2 separate regions of the Homo sapiens genome follow, and region 1 is linked to region 2. The links are contacts of gene promoters, found by promoter capture Hi-C in human tissues and cell types (Jung and others, 2019). All regions are on one chromosome and are shown on one strand. The core of a region is centred on a gene start or on the middle of the fragment in contact, and the rest is flanking DNA. Distances in the headings are between cores, read along the strand shown.

Evidence for each region. The method cuts DNA at HindIII sites, captures the fragments that hold promoters and counts their contacts. A contact is called where the count stands out against the background at its distance.
Region 1: a contact is called between a fragment that was not itself captured here and the fragment with the promoter of POLD2 in region 2, in 1 of the 25 tissues and cell types used here (H1 embryonic stem cells).

The regions. Positions count from the first base shown.
Region 1 is chr7:44,305,191-44,308,230 of GRCh38, forward strand. All of the region lies in intron 1 of CAMK2B (calcium/calmodulin dependent protein kinase II beta), which reads right to left. Among named protein-coding and RNA genes, the nearest start is that of CAMK2B, 19 kb to the right of the region's middle. RefSeq lists an enhancer at 1,051-1,100. The HindIII fragment of the contact is 4,208 bases long and covers 1-3,040 here.
Region 2 is chr7:44,122,165-44,124,902 of GRCh38, forward strand. It overlaps POLD2 (DNA polymerase delta 2, accessory subunit), which reads right to left and starts at 1,384. Exons shown (of 11, transcript NM_006230.4): 1 at 1,347-1,384. RefSeq lists a silencer at 1,070-1,779 and enhancers at 1,566-2,470, 1,990-2,049. The HindIII fragment of the contact is 6,473 bases long and covers 1-2,715 here.

The sequences.
Region 1 (3,040 bases), core at 482-2,981, 180 kb after region 2:
ATAAGGGTTCCCTTCAGGGCTCTCAGGCCACAGTGAAAGATGGGGCTATGCTCCCCATGTCACAGGAAGGGACAGGCACTGAATGCTCTGCTGAGACCATGGCAGCATGGATGTGGAGGTGGGATCAAACCAGACCCCTCTCCCCTAGCCAGGCACAGTGGCTCATGCCTATAATCCCAGCACTTTGGGAGGCCAAGGTGGGAGGATTGCTTGAGCCCAGGAGTTCAAGGTTACAGTGAGTTATGATGCACCTCTGCACCCCAGACTGGGTGGCAGAGCAAGCCCCAGTCTCAAAAACAAAACAAAATGAAACAAAAAATCCCCAAGCCCCCCAATCAACCTCTTGCCGCCCTGCACAGGTCCCCTGAGGTGCCCTGCACTGGCTCAAAAACAGTCTCCTGGGGAGATGGACGGGGCACCCCTGTGAGGTGGGGGAGGTGGGAGCAAGAGGAAAATGAATCACAGGACTTGAGCCAAGTAGAGCCCTGAGAGTGGGAAGAAGCAGGGCCGGGAGTTGGCAGCAGGACCAAGACAGGGGCGAGAGGCCTTGGGTGCCGTCTTGGCTCACTCCATCACTCGGTCACGCTGGCTGGGCCAAGGCAGAGGCAGTGGGTGTCAGAGACAGCTCTTCCAGCTAGAGAACAGACTTTCACATTTTCTGGATTCTTGCGAGCCAGCTGATGTCATGTTGTTAGCTTGACATTGGCCACGGTGGGCATCTTCATACCACAGAAATGGGCAAACACCACCCACCAGGGACCCCACCCCTCTGTTAAACATTGACCAGGCACCACTTGAGAGGGGACTGCAAGGGGGGATGATGTGGCCTCCCTCTACATACCCCAAATACCCAGAGGGAGGGGGGTTGAGGGTCAGGAGGGAGGAGAACCTGACAGGCCAGAAACCACCTAGGGGCTGAAATTACATGCTCCCCATGGGAGTGAGAGAGGAGAGGGGGTGAGCACTCTTCCTGAGGAGAGGGCTCACAGGGGAGCCAGTCTGACTGGGGGTTCTGAAAGCCACGGTGGGCTGGGCTGGGATCCCCGTAAATCCAGCCTGTCCTGTGCAGCCTCGGTGGGAAGTTCCCCCTTCCAGGGAGGGTCTGGGACTTCTGCTCATTCTGTATCAGCATCCATCTTTCTCTTTCACTTCTCCGTTCTCTCAGGTGAACCATATCCTCCAGAAATCTTCAGCAACAAATGTCTTCCTTTAGCAACCCCACAGGAGCTGTGCCCCAGAACAATGGCCATGACCCCAGTGGGGAGGTCTGCATTAAGCAAAGAGCAAAATAAATACAGAGATGAAGACAGGAGGGAGGACCACCCAGGAACACCTGTAGCCCACTGTGCCCATGCTCTTCCAACAGACTAGGGGAGGCCTGCAGGTCAGGCCTAGCCTCTAGGGTGGAGAGGTCCAGCCTGTCTCTTAGCCCTGGACCCAGCCTTGAAGCATGTGGTGGATTATGCAGATAATGCACAGGGGTTGCTGGAGAACTGTCACTCAATCTGGCCATGCTGAAACCAGTGAGCAGGAGGAGGGTGTGGGCAGGAGGAGGAGGGTGTGGGCAGGGGGAGGAGGATGCGAGCAGGGGAGGAGGGTGTGGGCAGGGGAGGAGGGTAAGGGCAGGGGTAGGAGAGTGTGAGTAGAATGAGGAGGGTGTGAGCAGGGGAAGGAAGGTGTGAGCAGGAGGAGGAGGGTGTGAGCAGGAAGACGGTGTGAGCAGGGGGAAGAGGGTGTGAGCAGGAAGAGAAGGGGGTGAGTAGGGGGAGGAGGATGTGAGAAAGGGGAGGAGGGTGTGAGCAGGAGGAGGAGGGTGTGAGCAGGAAGAAGAGGGTGTGAGCAGGGAGAGGAGGCGGTGAGCAGGGGGAGGAGGGTCTGAGCAGGGGGAGGAGGGTCTGAGCAGGGGATGGAGGGTGTGAGCAGGAGGAGGGTGTGAGCAGGGGGAGGAGGGTGTGAGCAGAGGGAGGAGGGTGTGAGCAGAGGGAGGAGGGTGTGAGCAGAGAGAGGAGGGTGTGAACAGGAGGAGGGTATGAGCAAGGGGAGGAGGGTGTGAGCAGAGGGAAGAGGGTGTGAGCAAGGGGAGGAGGGTGTGAGCAGAGGGAAGAGGGTGTGAGCAGGCGGAGGAGGGTGTGAGAAGGGGGAGGAAGTTGTCAGCAGGGGGAGGAAGTTGTCAGCAGGGGGAGGAGGGTGTGAGCAGGGAGAAGAGGGGGTAAGCAGAAGGAGGAGGGTGTGATCAGGGGGAGGAGGGTGTGAGCAGGGGAGGGTGTGTGAAGAGGAGGGTTTCAGGAGGCTCAGCCTGGGGCCTCCTGTGTCATTGGCGCCATCTGGCCCCTGGCACTGGGAATGGTCTGCCAGGGCTCACTGCATCTTTGGAATTCCTCCCCTGCCCACATGGAGAGGCTGTCACGCACATCAGGGGCCAACCTACTCCCTGGGACAAGGCTACGGTGCCTGTGTCCTAGGGCCTTGGTCCTGGCCTCATGAGATGCGCTTAGCCAGAGTCTGGTGGAGGTGGCCCATTAGCCTAGGGCCACCTGGAAGGAGCCTGTGGGAACTCTGAGGGGAACGCTGAGAGCTGACCCTTGTTGAATTTGTTTTCCTGTTTTTACCCACTGAAAGCTTTCATTTATTTTTCTGTGAGCTGTTGCTGCTGTCATCCGTACTTCAACTGGGGTTTTGGCCATTTTTTTTTAACTGGGGGGCCTCATTCTGTCACCCAGGCTGGAGTGCAGTGGTGTGACTGCAGCTCACTGCAGCCTTGATCTCCTAGCCTAAGTGATCCTCCCACCTGGGCCTCCCAAAGCGCTGGGATTCCAGGCCTTTTTGACCTATAGGAGCTCTTTCCATATGAGGGAAACCACCCATTCACCTCATGTAGCCCAAATGCTGGGAGGGCCTGCTGTGGCCTCACCCACACGGGATGTGCCCAGGAGGCATGGGGCAGGCACGTTCTTGTTCTGTTCCCTAACAGGAATGTGAACACTTTAAGCACAAGGCACGTCTCTTCTCCTCTTTGCCCCTAAAATCCAGATGTGCAGAT
Region 2 (2,738 bases), core at 134-2,633:
TCTCCTGGTGTCTCACTGCACCCAAAGGATACTGGGAAAAGAAGGAGAACAGCTGTAGTTGACACCAGACATTGTGTCCACTTGGAAATTTATCGTGCCTGGATACCGATGTCTCACCCTGTAGCGGTCATCCAAAAAGAGAAAAGGAAAGCTAGGAGTGTTTGTCCCATCTGGAGTTCTTCCCGAACCCTAGACTCAGGTGTCCTGTTCCATCTGGACAACTACCAGGGTCTCAATCAAGTTCAGTTTGCCCCAAATGGAATTCCCGATCTGCCTCCATCCAGCTCTCCGGCACCTGTCTCATTTCCAGACAAGAGGTCTGCCTTATTAAATAAAACTTCTGTGAAATAATAAGCCTATTATTAAATAATAATAGAACTAAACCAAAACCAAAACATAAATCAGTCACTGCTCTGTTCAAAACTCTCCAAAGTGTCCTCATTTCATTGAATAAGGCCCCAAGTCCTTACAACTGCCTATGAGATCTGCTCCACTGGTCCTCTCCCCTCCTGGTTCCCACTCCTCCACCTTGGATCCCTCCCCACAGCAAGGGGCCTCTGAACTCTTGCTTGCCCCTCTCCCGTATACTTATAGAGCTCACTTGCCCATCTCCTTCAAGTTCTTACATCTTTACTCAAATGTTACCTTGTGCCCTGCCCATCTGATTTACAACTGCAACTCTCCCCAGTACTTCAACTGTTATTGTTGTTTACAACATTTACCTTCTAACAAACTGTATATTTTAAATGTATTGTCTGCCTGCTCCAACTAGACCATAAGCTCCAGGAGAGCTGAGATTTTTGTGTCTTATGCCACTAGCCACCTAGGGCTACGAAGTACAGGAGATGTGGTGAGTCCAACTGTGATGTTTGGGTTGGACACACAATGGATTTCTAAGAATAGTACAAAGAATATCCCAATAATTTTTTCACATACAATTGAAATAATAGTTTGAATATATTTATGGATTTACTCCAATTGATTTGTTTCGTTTTACTTTTTTCGTACACCTACTAGAAAGTTAAAAAATTCCCTAGCGGCTTGCAATCTATCTCCACGGGACAGCACTGGCCTGGGACACAGGCTCCGCACACGTGTCTAACGAGTGACTCGTTAGGAGCTTTTGGCTCGAACGTGCTTGATGGCGGCAGCAGCCAGGCCGCGCTACTCGGGATGGGGCCGAGAGCGCCCTGGGGGCTGTCCCAGTCACGGCGGGTGCCCCGGCTCGGATCCACGCGGCAGCTGCGGGACGTCCGCCAAGACACCAGCCCACCGACCCAGGAGCCCGGCCTCGCGGCCTGGAACTGCCACCCCCAGCTGACCCCGTTTCCCTGGACCCCACTCACCGCGCGGCGCGCCGCATCCCGCCAATCCCCGCGCGCCTGCCCCGCCCATCGCCGCAACTCGCTAATCCCCGCGCGGCTTCCCCGCCCATCGCCTAATCTCACCAATCGCTGCCCTCCTCGCCCCGTCCGTCACCAGGCGCCTCATCCCGCCGACCACTGTGCGCCCAGTCCCTGGGACGCCCAGAGAACGCGGAGCCACACCCTCGGTTTCCTGGGCAACGCGGGGCGGGGGCTCGCAGGCCGGCGCCGCGGGTCTTTGGTTGGCGGCCGCGCGTGCAGGGGTTGGGCTGACGGGGGGTGTCGGCCTCCAGTGGGCTGACCGCGTCACCCCGTCAGGCCCTGCCCAAACCTCCCAGTGGTCGTCACCCCGCCAGACCTCCCAGTGGTCGGCCGCCAGCCTCCTTGGTGAAGCCCCCAGCGTCCCAGCTTTCCCCGCAGAGCTGCCCACTTGTAGCGATGGCGACACGCGAGGAGGATCCCAACAGAAAGAAGGCCCAAGGCCCACTAACTTGGCCGGGGAGAAGTAACTCTTCCTGAAGGGATGGCGCGGGGTCTCGGGGTTCCTCCCGTCCTGCCAGCGTCTGCGTCCGGGAAACGCATTGGCGGTTTCGGGGTCCTCCCTAGCTTGCCCACAGCTGCACACCAGCTTCCAGCCCAACACTCCCCAATCTCCAGTGTCCTCGTTGTCCCCGTTACTCATACTCGTTCTTACCACCACGTCTTTCTGAGTGCTGTCTCCCACTTTGGGAATACTTTTTTTTTTTTTTTTCCATCTCCACTAATTTATAGAATTCCTCACCCCATCAAGAGACGCTTCCCCACTAAGCTTCCCGGGCTCTTCCCGCCGCGCGCTGATTCTCCCAGGCGTCCTCTAGCGCTACTGTTCTGCTACTTCCCTGGGCCTGTTTCCTAAGTCCAGGTCTTGTCTCCACAACGAGTGGATATTAACACTCGTTAATTATTACTTAATATTTTAATTTTTGTTTTTGTTTGTTTGTTTGAGGCAGCGTCTTGCTCTGTGGCCCAGGCTGGAGTGCAGTGGTGCGATCTCGGCTCACTGCAGCCTCGAACTCCCAGGCTCCAGTGATTCTCCCGCCTCAGCCTCCCGAGTAGCTGGGACAACAGGCGCGCAGCACCACGCCTGGCTACTTTAAGTTTGTGTGTGTGTGTGTGTGTGTGCGTGTGTGTGTAGAGACAGGGTCTCCCAATGGTGCCCAGGCTAGTGTGGAACTCCTGGGCTCAAGTGATCCTCCCACCTCAGCCTCCCAAAGTGCTGGGATTACAGGCATGAGCCACCACGCCCAGCCTTATATTTTAATTTAAAATGTGATATTTTAATTATTAAACGCCTTTGCAACTGCTTTGAGGTTATGACACATTAATTCATCTGCT